Regions from separate parts of the Homo sapiens genome. Here all the other regions are linked to region 1. Evidence: promoter capture Hi-C in 16 types of primary human blood cells and fetal thymus (Javierre and others, 2016). All regions are on one chromosome and are shown on one strand. Each heading gives the region's core, a stretch centred on a gene start or on the middle of the fragment in contact. The rest is flanking DNA. Distances are from core to core; before and after follow the strand shown. Region 1 holds the start of DNAJC21 (DnaJ heat shock protein family (Hsp40) member C21). Region 2 has its middle 3.6 kb from the start of SUB1. Region 3 has its middle 25 kb from the start of SUB1.

Evidence for each region. Contacts are between HindIII fragments. The CHiCAGO score rates a contact against its expected background, and 5 or more counts as called.
Region 2: a contact is called between a fragment that was not itself captured here and the fragment with the promoter of DNAJC21 in region 1, in 4 of 17 cell types (neutrophils, naive CD4 T cells, naive B cells and 1 more). The highest score is 16.6, in neutrophils.
Region 3: a fragment that was not itself captured here is called in contact with the fragment with the promoter of DNAJC21 in region 1 in 1 of 17 cell types (naive B cells); the score reaches 5.9 in naive B cells.

What each region holds. Positions count from the first base shown.
Region 1 is chr5:34,927,793-34,932,244 of GRCh38, forward strand. DNAJC21 (DnaJ heat shock protein family (Hsp40) member C21) reads left to right here and starts at 1,767. Exons shown (of 12, transcript NM_001012339.3): 1 at 1,767-2,124. The coding sequence starts at 2,028. LOC124900961 (a long non-coding RNA gene) reads right to left here and starts at 1,889. Exons shown (of 2, transcript XR_007058731.1): 1 at 1,857-1,889; 2 at 1-1,341. RefSeq lists silencers at 1,443-1,912, 1,923-1,992, 2,023-2,222 and enhancers at 2,251-2,896, 2,363-2,532. The HindIII fragment of the contact is 5,598 bases long and covers 682-4,452 here.
Region 2 is chr5:32,579,749-32,584,200 of GRCh38, forward strand. No RefSeq gene overlaps it. Among named protein-coding and RNA genes, the nearest start is that of SUB1, 3.6 kb to the right of the region's middle. RefSeq lists an enhancer at 2,220-2,279. The HindIII fragment of the contact is 2,334 bases long and covers 711-3,044 here.
Region 3 is chr5:32,608,568-32,613,019 of GRCh38, forward strand. No RefSeq gene overlaps it. Among named protein-coding and RNA genes, the nearest start is that of SUB1, 25 kb to the left of the region's middle. The HindIII fragment of the contact is 4,330 bases long and covers 1-4,019 here.

The DNA.
Region 1 (4,452 bases), core at 517-3,016:
TCACCCAGGGCTGTAGTGTGGTGGTGTGGTCATAGCTCACTGCAGGCTCTAACTCCTGGGCTCAAGTATTCCTGCCTCAGCCTCCTGAGTAACTAGGACTACAGGCCCACGCCACCATGCCTGGCTTTTTTTTTTTTTTGTAGAGACAAGTTCTCGCTATGTTGCCCAGGCTCGTCTTGAACTCTTGGGCTGAAGGGATCCTCCTGCCTCGGCTTCCCAAAGTGCTGGGATTACAGGCATGAGCCACCACGCCTGGTCAAGATGTTCCTTTAGACTGAAATTTATATCCAGCATAGTTACCTTTAATTATACAATGTTACAGGCAAAAATCCTTCTTACTTCAGAAGGTAAAAGAAGTAAGTGATTCCTACAGGCTGTATCCAAAACCAAATCAAGTTGGAGGGAGAAAATACTCCAAATTAAGTTGGAGGGAAAAAAATACTTTCCCTTTCCGTTTTTTTTTTTTTTTTTGTCCCTCCCTTCCCCCCGCCCACCATCCCAATTCTGTTCTCAGGAGGGGAAAGGTTTCATTCTCCCCCAAACTCAGACTTCTCAATCCTTATCCATTACCAATTTACCAACTAACTGAGACTGTGTAGAATCTTCCTCTGGAAAAAAGGGAAGTGTATGAATTCTGAGTAGTGAGTTGGTTGGTCAGTGGCGTGTGAAGTAACCTGATGAAGCTTAGCGTGGGTTTTTTATTTTACTGGGGGCAGCATATTGGGGAAGAGAAGGATAACCTTACTAAACCGCTTGGGTACGCCAACCCTGTGCAATAGATATTAGCAACATAGCTAACCATACATGGTTAGTAAATACAACCCACACCTAACTGATGCATGTAAACATTCCACATTACAGTGAAATATATTGGTGTATTAATGCATTTTAATAATTATGGTATTATTTTGATACCTTTCAAAGTGTTTGGAATAATTGTGCAGATAGTCAGATCAACCAAAACCTACCAGTTAAATACTATCCTTTAACTGCTTTCTTAACCTAAACCAATCTTGGAAAGGTAGGATTAGAGGCCAGAAAGTTAGGATTAAAGTGTGTTGGATGGATAGATCAGCACAATTTCATCCATGTTGGTGGTAAGGCTTTTCATTAAGTGTGTTGATGCTTCCCTTTTAAATTGTTTCCGCTTAAATAATCTAACTGTCCTTTCTCAAGCATATTGGTCAAGATGATCAATACCAGATATCTTAAGTGGCAGCTGAAGAGAATTAAAGAGATTAAAAAAAAAACCTGATATTCAGTCCAACCGAATTCTGCTACTGTATTAGCTGAGGAGGCTTGAGCCAACCACTTGACCACTTGGAGTCTGAATCGCCTTATCTATAAAAACGGGGATCCATTGAGAAATTATAATCAGATATTTTCCAGAATCCTCTCCCATCCCAGCTCCTATCTCCCCCTTCAGCCCTCAGGTCGGCTGCCACTCACACTGACCGCCATCTGTGCCCCTCACAATGACACCAGCGTGGCCCTGCCTCCCTTCCGCGCGGCCCCGCCTCTCGCCCCGCCGAGGCCCCGCCTCTCACACCAAGGTCCCGCCTTCCTCCTGTTCTTCCCGGCCAAGGCCTACCTTCCTCCCACGCGGCCCGCCTCTTTCCCCGCCAAGCTCCCGCCTTTCTCCTGCGCGGCCCGCCTCTCTCCTCGCCAAGGCCCCGCCTTCCTTCCTCGGGGCCTCGCCTCTCACCCCGCCGAGGCCCCACCCCCTCCCGCGCGGCCCTTTCCGGCACAGAGCCCACCCCTAGCCCATGCGAAGCGGCGGCCGCCGGCACCGCCCCCGCCGCGCTCCCGCTTGCCGCAGCCTGCGTCGTCTGCCGCCACCGCGCGCCTTCACTGACCTACACCACCGCCGCCGCCGCCGCCGCCGCCGGGCTCGCTGGCTGGCCCGGTGCGGGCGGCGGACTCCCGCCGGAGAGGACTGCCAGCGCCGCCGCCGCCGCCGCTTCGGCCCGGGCCCGGGCCCCGACCCCGTCCCGGGCCCCAGCGCCGGCCGCCCGCCCGGTCGGGCGATGAAGTGTCACTATGAGGCGCTGGGGGTGCGGCGCGACGCCAGCGAGGAGGAGCTCAAGAAGGCCTATCGGAAGCTGGCCCTGAAATGGCACCCGGGTAAGTACCTGTCCCGCAGCCCCCGCGGCCACTCGGAGAAGCCCGGCCCTCCCCGACCTTCCCTTCCCCCGGGCGGACTCCGCGGAGCCAGCAGAGAGGGACCTGGCGGCCTAGGAGCTCCTTGCCCCGCCCGGCCAGTGCCCGGAGCCGCCCTGCCCGTCTCGGTGGGCGAAGCGCTCTGCCCTGGCGCACCCCGGCTCACACCCCATCTCCTCATACCCGCGACCCCGGCCCCGCATCGCCACTGTAGGGGGAAAACTGCAGTCCAACAACCTCACTTGCTCCCGCTACCGGGTCGCAGACACCACGAGGGAGCAGTCGGGAACTCGGAACTCAGACCTGCCCCAGGCTTGCTTTTCCCTGCGTCCCTTGCAGCGCAGCCTCTCGGTGTTTTTCCTCCGCTGCCCTCCACCTCGTCCGGGAATCCCAGATACTTCAACCTGATGTATGGCTCTTTTCGTTTCTTAGTTAAGAAGTTAAGACACGGGAGCTAGTAAAATATCTTTTCAATAGGGATGCGCTTTTTTCGCTGTTTTTTTTTTCTTTTAATAAGCTGTTTAAGCAGACCTTGTACTTCACTTTGGACATGATTCTGCCGGGGAAGGTTTTAATCAGGCGGCTTCCCCAGTAAAGTTTGTATGTTTACTTAGAAGTATCCTTCCTTTGGATGTTTCATTGGTCTGTAATCCAGGCCTGTGTGACTTTTATGAAGTAATCTGATCTTCCAGGCTGGGAAACTAAGAGAGTAGTTGACTTTCAGCTTTTTGAGGTTCATATGAAGAGGCTTTCATATTAGCATTCATCAGTAAACACGGTTACAGAGTATCCAATATATGCAAGTCACTGCACTCTACTAAGTAGATTTGGAAATGCTGAGACAGGGGTCTTAGAGTCTTGTTAGGAAAACAACTTTCTGCCTTACACAAATGAAAAGTTAAATACAACTGCCAGAAAAAAATCGCAACATACATAATTGGTGGTTAGATTAATGGAACAACTAATATATGCTCCAGGAATTCAGGGAGGGAGTTACCATTTTGTATTGAGTCTTCCCCTTCTCAGAGGAGTTTGGACTGGATCGTAGAGGAATGCAATTTGGAAAAGTGAACTCAACAGTATGGAGGATAGCATGGTGGAGGACAAAAGATGTTCCGGGGGACAGTTTGACTGAAGGTGGTGTGTATTGCAGGTCTGAAAAATAGGGATTATGAGAGGAGTGGAAGGAAAGGTCAGGGACCCAAAGTCAAAAGGGAATGGCTATGGTGATGGAGTGAGAGATAGAGGTGTGGGTCTGTTACTTAAAGTTATGCTTACCAACAGAGGCGTGAAAAAATGTGATTATAAATATATTAGAAGAGCAGAAGTAAATGAACTGATGTTCATCATAGCAGTAAGTCAGAAGATACAGCCAAAATTAATAAATGTAAAAATAGTGTAGAAGTATATTCTTAGAGTTTGGGTTAGTGTAGAAGCATATTCTTAGGAGTTTGGGTTGTTACTGTTAGAAATCAAGTTAGGAATTAGAAGGAAGTTCGGAATTCCTTGACTTTCTAGGTGGGAAAGGGTAAATGAAGTAGCGAATGCTGTGACCAAAAGCGTATGTAATTTTCTGAAGAGTGATTTTAAATCAGATTGTATTTCTTGAGTACAAGAGTAGTTTGAAATCAGATTGTATTTCTTGTAATCTTGAATATTAGCCCAAGGACTGTGAAATTTGCTTCGCTAAATAAGGGAGAGTTGTGGCTGGTTTTATTAAGCTGCCATGGGAGAGTACTATGAAGGCAACTTAGTGGATTGAAGAGGGCTGGAGACAGAAGTTAGGGAGAGTCCGCAGTGGACAGACAGGTAAGGGCCCAAGCCAGGCTTGGGGTCAGCGGGAGGGGGAAAGCGCAAGGGGAGGAGATGTTGGGAAGGAAAAATGACCAGATTTGGTGATTAATTAGAAATCAGTGCTAGGAAGAAGCATGCAAATATGACTAAAGTATCAGTTAACTCCTTTGAAACCAAACCTGTTAGGAACTGAATGCAAATATCTTCTCTAAATATCATCATAATTTATGGCATCAGTGTGATGGTATCTGAGAATGGGCAGCAGGAAGCCCTGAAGAGCCATGTTCTAGGGCGGCAAAACTATTTGTAGATAAGACATTGCTGTCATGTTTTCTTGTAACTTCTTAGAAGGGAAGTATTGAGCTGTAGCTTAAAGAACTTTAGTGTGCTCCGGCCAGGTGCGGTGACTCACACCTGTAATCCCAGCACTTTGAGGGGCTGAGGTGGGCGGATCACCTGAGGTCAGGAGATGGAGACCATCCTGGCCAACATGGTGAA
Region 2 (4,452 bases), core at 628-3,127, 2.3 Mb before region 1:
ATCTTTACATGGCAGAGAACAGAGACAGAATAATTAAGCTCTCTCTTGTCTCTTCTCATAACAGCATGAATCTATTTATGAGGGTTCCACCCTTATGACTAAGTATGCCCCAAAGTCCCCACCTATAATACCATCCCACTGGGATTAAGGGTTCAACATATGAATCTGGGGGAAAACACAAGCATTCAATCCATAACAACCCTCTTACCTTGTACTGTCTCCCTTCCCAGTTCTTCAGACTCACTAAACTGGAGGATGCCCAGGTTTTTGTTTTATTTGTTTTCTCTTTTGCATGTATGATCCACATGGCCCCATCCTAGGTGTTCCTAAAACCTCTAGACATCCAGAGCCACCATATCTTTTAATATCCAAATTGAATGGTTGGTGCTACCATTCCATGTGCCGTGGGACCTCCAGAATTCTTAAGTTTTCCCAAAATAACCTGGAAGGAGTTATGTTCTCCTAGTCATTCACGCTGTGATCTGCTTTCCTGCTTTAGCCTGGAGGTTAAACCAGAGGCGGCTGACCTCCCTAGGTGCCCACCACATCCCTGGCACATAAGCCTGTTCCTCTCCCTTTCTTTCTTGTTTCCTCTTCTTTGTATATTACTGGTATGTCTCTTGTGCTACAAACTCAGGCTCTCAGGAAATGTGACTTTCTTCATTTTCTTATGATTGTGTTTAATGATCACCATTTCACCTAGTGGTAAAAGCTTAATTGTGGCCAATTTCAGGTCAAACTCATAATTTCTCCCTTTCCCCCTTTCTCTCCTAAATTCTGGACAGAGGTGGGGTAGGATTACATGGTGTCAGAGCACTAAGGGTAGTGGTAGAGTCTGGCCCATTTTCCCCATCTGTCCATGACAGCCGCATTAGTCTGTTCTCGCATTGCTATAAAGATTTACCTGAGACTGGGCAACTTATAAAGAAAAGAGGTTTAATTAGTTCATGGTTCCACAGGCTGTGCAGGAAGCATGGCTGGAGAGGCCTCAGGAAACTTACAATCATGGTTGAAGGAGAAGGGGAAGCAGGCACATCCTACGTTGCTGGAGCAGGAGGAAGAGAGACAAGGGGGAGGAGCTACACACTGTTTTTTTTTTTCGTTTGTTTTGTTTTTTAGATGGAGTCTCGCTCTGTCGCCAGGCTGGAGTGCAGTGGCATGATCTCGGCTCACTGCAACCTCCGACTCCCTGGTTCAAGTGATTCTCCTGCCTCAGCCTCCCAAGTAGCTGGGATTACAGGCATGTGCCACCATTCCCAGCTAATTTTTGTAGTTTTAGTAGAGACAGGGTTTCACCATGTTGGCAAGAATGGTCTCGATCTCCTGACCTCGTGATCCACCCTCCTTAGCCTCCCAAAGTGTTGGGATTACAGGCATGAGCCACTGTGCCCGGCCGGTGCTACACACTTCTAAACAACCAGATCTCGTGAGAATTCACTCACTATTACGAGAACAGCAAGAGGGAGATCTGCCCCCAGGATCCAATCACTTCCCACCAGCCCCCTCCTCCAACATTGGGGATTACAACTCAACATGAGATTTGGGCAGGGACACAGATGGAGACCGTATCATTGGCCTTTGCTTAACAGTTCATCTTGTCTGATTCTTGATCCTTCTCACTTCTTCACACTGGTATTTGTTGAGATGTCCTTTGTTACAGCACTCTATGCAAGTTGAGGGTGGTGAGATTTCCTCTTCCTCACTGCAAGTCCTCCCCAGGTCTGCTGGCTGTCACTGACACATCTGTGCCACTCTTGGCCAAAGAGAAAGACATTCCCCTGAATGCTGCAGTACCCTGGGGCATCTCTGAACTCGGTGAGGAAGCCTGAGGTCGGCCATCCTGACACACCACACAGATATCTCTACCCCAACTCTGTGGTGGAGGGAGGGGCGCTTGGGTTGCAGAGGAGCTCGGAGAGCTCGGCTGCCTGGAAAGCAAGGCACCAGTTTGCTTTGCTCTCTCAGATCCCTAAGCCCTCTGGGAATTTGATGCTTCCTTCCTTCCCCAGGGCTGGTGTGGGGACAGACAGCAGAACTACTTCTCTACTCCTTAGACACTGAAGAGGGGCCTCATCTCCTTTCTCTTCTGACTCCTCCCTTTCACAGTTGCAATAATCTCTACAGGCGAGTGGGGTGGGCTAAAAGGAACTATTTTTGTTTGTTTGTTTTTGAGACAGGGTCTCAAAAACACCCAGGCTGTCACCCAGGCTGGAATGAATGCAGTGGCGCACTCATGGCTCACTGCAGCCTCGACCTCTCAGGCTCAAGCAATCCTCCTGCCTCAGCCTCCTGAGTAGCTGAGACTACAGGAACTTACCACTACACCCAGCTGATTTTTTTCTTTTTCTTTTTCTTTTTCTTTTTTTTTTTTTGAGATGGAGTCTGTCTCTGTCACCAGGCTGGAGTGCGGTGGCATGATCTTGACTCACTGCAACCTCTGCCTCCTGGGTTCAAGCGATTCTCCTGCCTCAGCCTCCTGAGTAGCTGGGACTACAGGCACGCACCATCACGCCCAGCTAATTTTTGTATTTTTAGTAGAGACGGGGTTTCACCATGTTGGCCAGGATGGTCTCGATCTCCTGACCTCGTGATCCACCCACCTGGACCTCCCAAAGTGCTGGGATTACAGGCGTGAGCCGCTGTGCCTGGCCCATTTTTTTGTATTTTTTGTAGAGACAGGGTCTCACTATGTTGTCCAGGCTGGTCTGCAACTCCTGGGCTCCAGTGATCCACCCACCTCGGCCTCCCAAATTGCTGGGATTACAGGCAGGATCCACAGCACCCAGCCAGAAAAAAACTTTAATAGCACATTACCTTAAATCTGTAATTTATGCCTGGAATCCTAATAGTTTAAAAAAGTCAAAAGCCAAGAATCTGGTCTGTGTGTTCTGGTCTAACATCCTTCTTCTAGTCAAATGCTGTAGCTGAGAAAACGGGGGATGGGGAAAGAGTGAAGGTCAGAAAGCAGGAAGTGCTAGTAACAAAAGCCACATTGGGTAAGATTTCAAAATAATATCCTGATACTTGAATAAGCCTTTTTCGGAAGCTTTGAAAGAAGTGAGTAACGGAGGGTGTCGACAGCATAAGGCCTTGGAGGGAACCGCATTAACAGTCCCGTGCCATACTCCAGGCCTCCAGGAACTTCTTCCTGGCAGTCTCCTCCTCAAGCTCTGTCCCTTTCATAGTTTGTGAGCTATTTCCCTTCTCAGCCCTACTTCCCAGTCTACCTCCCTTTCTGGGACACCTACAGATTCTCCAAATTCAGCACATTCCTTTTTGTGCCACCCTCTTCTTCCAGACCAAGGCTTGGAGTGGAAAGTGGGAGTTCTTTCACTTTTAAAGATGCCCTCTAGGAATTTGCCTATAAAAGGAGCTATTCCCCACCCCACAATGTACAAATGCATGTGAATTACACCTCCTTCCCATTCTATTATTTGAAAGCAACTGCTGTCTTTTTTTTTTTTTTTTTGAGACGGAGTTTCGCTCTTGTTGCCTAGGCTGGAGTGCAATGGGTGTGATCTAGGCTCAGTGCAGCCTCAGCTCACTGCAACCTCTGCCTCCTGGGTTCAAGCGATTCTCCTTGCCTCAGTCTCCCGAGTAGCTGACATTACAGGTGCCCGCTACCACGCCCGGCTAATTTTTTGTATTTTTAGTAGAGACGGGGTTTCATCAGGTTTGCAGGCTGGTCTCAAACCCCTAACCTCAGGTGATCCACCCGCCTCAGCCTCCCAAAATGCTGGGATTACAGGCATAAGCCACCACGCCTGGCCCCTATTTTGTTTAAAATAAAAAAGTTTCCTTCCTCTTTCATCTATGTAAAAAATTATTTTTGTTTATTTTCTTGAGTTATGTTTACCTTTTAAAAATGGGCAACGCTTAGGATCAAGGATTTTCGATTAGTTTTACAAAGTACCACACCCAGGAAAATTGAGCCAACAAATTTGCATGCAAAGTTTCAGGTCTCCCTACTTCTAAAAATGCATACCTCCTTAACAGCTCTCCACCTCCGACGCTTAGAGAACCGAAACCCAAACCTACAGCAGGCACACTGCCCAGGTTCCCTCAGTGACACAGAAACTGAATGAAAACTTGTTAAAGCAGGAAGGGTTGCAGATGGAGGGGATACCATATTAGTTTAAGTGTACGTGGTTTACCTTGAATATTAAGCATTTCTTTAGCTAGGTGTGGAGCTGCGCAGTGTCCCATGACAATGCATAATGTCAGTGTTTCTTTTCTTTTTTTTTTTGAGACGGAGTTTCACTCTGTCATCCAGGCTGGAGTGCAGTAGTACAATTTCAGCTCACTGCAACCTCCACTTCCCAGGTTCATATGATTCTCCTGTCTTACCCTCCTGAGTAGCTGGGCACACGCCACCACGCCCGCCTAATTTTTGTGTTTTTAGTAGAGACGGGGTTTCACCATATTTGTCAGGCTGGTCTCGAACTCCTGACC
Region 3 (4,452 bases), core at 605-3,104, 2.3 Mb before region 1:
AGATACTTTAACATTTTTTTAATGGAAAATAATCATATTTTGCAAAACAAAATTATGAGTGACATTATTTTACATTTTACCAATCTCTTTAATAGAACATGGCTGGATTCTCCTGTTTGCTTCTGCAGATAATCTTTTGTTTGGGTTGAGGTATGTGAAGAAAATGTGGCCTCACAGAGATGTGTAGTTGGAAAAGGGAGGAATACTTTATTATTTTTTTTTTCTGAGACAGTTTCGCTTTTGTTGCCCAGGCACCATCTGGGCTCACTGCAACCTCCACCTCCCGGGTTCAAGCGATTCTCATACCTCAGCCTGCAAAGTAGGTGAGATTACAGGCGTATGGCACCATGCCCGGCTAATTTTTGTATTTTTAGTAGAGACAGGGTTTCACCATGTTGGCTAGACTGATCTCGAATTCCTGAGCTTAAGTGATCTGCCTGCCTCAGCCACTCAAAGTGCTGGGATTACAGGCATGAGCCACTGTGCCTGGCACAGGAATACTTTAATAGCCTTTCCAGGTAATTGTGGGTATCCTTTGATAACAACCACAAAATTTGACAAGTGGTAGTTTCTTAAAAGTTGTAGTATGTAATTTCCCCTTGAAAACTTGAATTTCATCATTGACAACACATGCTGTCAGTTGTTTTTTTTTGAAGTGATAGGCTCAGTTTGTTTGTTTCTGAGAAATTGTCTGCCAAATCCACAGGTCTGAACAACGACAATTTGTCAATCTTGGAAGTTAAAATGGTGCTCCGTGCAAAGTGCCGCTAGTTCAGTTCACACTCCAAACAGTTCTGCCGGTGCTTTTCCTTGAGACTGCCTTGGAACCTCAATGTGCATTTCCCAAGAGTAAAGACATTCTTCTACCTAGCCTCAATATTATCACAACTTAAAACATCAATAATTTTATCAACTATTCAGTCCGTAGTAAGTTTCCCCAGTTCCCAAAAATGTTCATTTCTTCTCCCAATGCAGTGTCTTGATGAAAATTCATGCTGTTCATTTGGTTATCAGTCTCTTTTAATCTAGAATTATTCCCTACTATTTTGTTTTCCACGACATTGACCTTTTGTAAGAGTCCAGGCCACTTGTAGTATGTCCCATATTCTAGATTTGTCTGTTTCCTCATGGCTCAGTTCAGGTTAAATGTCTTTTGCAAGAATGCTACATAGGAGATGCTGTACCTACCGCACCACACCAGAAGGTACATCAGGCCAGGTTGTTTCACAACTGGTCATGTGAATTTTGATCACTAAGTTATTTAAAATGGTGATTGCCCGTTCTTTTTTTTTTTTTTTTTTTTTTTTTTGAGACAGAGTCTTGCTCTGTCTCCCAGGCTGGAGTGCGGTGGTGCGATCTCGGCTCACTGCAAGCTCCGCCTCCTGGGTTCACGCCATTCTCCTGCCTCAGCCTCCTGAGTAGCTGGGACTACAGGCGCCCACCACCACACCCGGCTACTTTTTTTGTATTTTTAGTAGAGACGGGGTTTCACCATGTTAGCCAGGATGGTCTTGATCTCCTGACCTCGTGATCCGCCCACCTCGGCCTCCCAAAGTGCTGGGATTACAGGTGTGAGCCACCGTGCCCGGCCTTGCCCGTTCTATTTTATTTTATTTATTATCATTATTTTGTGAGACAGAGTTTCACTCTGTCACCCAGGCTGAAGTGCAGTATTGTGATCTCGGCTAACTGTACCGTCTGCCTCCTGGGTTCAAGTGATTCATGTGCCTCAGCCTCCCGAGTAGCTGGGATGACAGGCGTGCACTACCATGCTTGGCTAAATTTTGGCATTTTTAGTAGAGATGGGGTTTTGCCATGTTGACCAGGCTGGTCTTGAACTCCTGGCCTCAAGTGATCCACCTGCCTCGGCCTGCCGAAGTGCTGGGATTACAGGCGTGAGCTACTGTGCCCCCGGCCACAAATAAAAATTTTTTACTCTCAAGGAGCATTCAGTCTATTTCATTCTTTGAAAAGCATGTAAGTTTTGGGAGCCTAGCATGGAAGGGAGTGATGGTTCCAGTGCGTTGGTAGTGGAGACTGCCTTTTGGTCATCTTGGGCTTCTCATGCCATTGAATTAGTAGGGAAATAAGGAGGTGATTGTGGTGTTTGAGTTCATTGATCTTGATTGTCTGAGGGAAATTGGACTGTTTGTTCCTACACAGTGGTGGCAAGGAGAGTGATGTTTGGAAACCAGGGGGTTTACTGGTGACTGTGCTCCCTTAACCAGTTGTCTTGAAGGAAAAACTTCAACCCGTAAATAGAAGACCTCCAAAGACTCACTGTAAGAATGAAGGTTTTGTACTTTTCATCTGGTAAAGAACCCTGGCCCAGCAAAGGTGCTGGAGGAGGCTAACTGGAACTCGGAATGGGCAGAGGGCAAAGGCAGCTAAGATGACCAATACAGACCTCACAGAAGTCAGGATTGTCACAACAGTGTTTTATGTCATTTAAGTGTTTCTCCTCTCTTTTCTCTGAAATAAGTTAAATGAATAACACCAATGCTGGCTAAAGTTTTAGGCTGTGGAGTATGAGAACAACTTGTATTGAAGTAGTAGTTGGTGGAACATTGATCCTGCCCCGTATTGGGAACTCAATCTTTCCACCAGGTGAAGGACAAGAGATGATGCTGAAGGCAAAAGGCTCGGATGGTGCCATATATGTATATATTTTATCTGTTCCCCTAGATATTCCATCTATTCCCCTAGATCCAGTCTTACCCTGCGCTCTGTCCTGGGAGGCTGGGATGTTTGGTTGGGTTTGGTTCATGGTGAAAGGAGAGTTTGGTGGGGTAGGGTCACCTTAGGTTGGCTGTGTTTCTTAAAAACTCCTCTCAAGGTGACTTCCTCTATGTGAGTTTCTTATGGGTTCCAGCAGCTACTCGGTCCCTACAACTTTCAACTGTGGGATGTTTAGTTCCTCTGTTACTACTGGTTACCCTTTTGTTTTCCTAAGCCTTCACTCACACCTTTGTAAATAATATATTTTAATAAATTTTACTCCTTGAATTGGCATAATTCGAGTGTGTCTTTTCAGGTTGGGAGCTTGACTAATAATGGACAAATAAGATTAGCAGAGACAACTATTACGGATTAGGATTAAAAACCTCTGTTACCTAGTTCTGTAGATTAAAGTCAAAGATGAATGTCTTCAAACTTTGTGCAAAAGAACTTCACTTGGTTATTTTTAATGTGTTTGGTCTTTCTTGCCCTATGAGGCCTCTAAAAACAGTCATGGCAGTGACCAGAAACAACTGTTAAAATCATCAACTAGCAAAAAAATCCAAGAAAGAAGGGATCTTCACAGTTTGACCCCCCGATTTAATAGGCAAACTTGTATCTATTCCAAGGCTACATGATCTCTTTGTGTTGTCTCACTACCAAAGATGATCAAGATTATCAGTAGGAACATGAGGTTATTGGCAATAACTAGGGCTACTGCCTATCTCCACGCAGGGATGATTTCCAGTGGCTGCTGTTCCACTGCATTCTCCTTGACAGAGTGGGTATTCATTCCTAGCACGTTCAACCCCAAGCAAAACAAGGTCAGAGTTGGATGGGGAGATTTACAAGTTTTTGAGGACTTGGGCTGACAAACTTGAAGAATGGCCAGAGCAAACTCTCGAGGCAGGTACACAAGTTGGAAATCAGACTTCTAGTCACAAGTGGCAGGCCTGGAAACCTTGACAAGTCATCTCAAGGGATGATGTCGACCTTGGCCGTAGACAGGTCTGCATTCTTGATGTCAACCTTGGCCATAGGTCTGCATTCTTGTGGTCTGCCCTTGGCCATAGACGGGTCTGCATTCTTCTTGCTGTCTGCCCCAGTGGTGCAAAAGTCTTAGAGGGGGAAGAACGTATTGAAAGCTAAAGGCTTTGACAATTTATGTGTTGGTGATAAGCTGGTCTTTGTTAGCACTGTCCTAGTGAGGCTGAAGGAATAAGTTTCTCTGCTGAACTTTCACATAGGTTGTAGCTGTGGCAGGGCTCATCAGGGTTGGATTCTCAGATCTCTTAATGGAAAGCTTTGATATATTTCATGTGTGTTTTTAAATAGCATTCAATGTATGTTTAAATATAGGAGTGTCCTGTGAGTGGCTCCCGGGGAGCAGCCGGAAGTGTTGTACTCGGCTGTCTATTGTGTGTGGGAGAGTCTTTCTGTTGACTGTGGATCTCATATTTATGAGGACTGCATGCAAGGATTGCCTCTCGAGGTCTCGTTTATAGATTGATATCAGCCAGGTATTTTTCAGAATTCTGTTCTGCCATTCCACTGCCCTCCTGATTCTGGGAGATGTGGGCATTGAAAAGACTTTGTAGATTTCCTTTATAATTTGGCCCGGATGTGGTTGGCTCCTGTCACTATTATTGAACAAAGGCTCTCAAATAGTCTTCTTGATATAACAATAGTTGTAACAGCTTTGGTGTTTAGAGATTACTTCTATTCAGCTGGGAA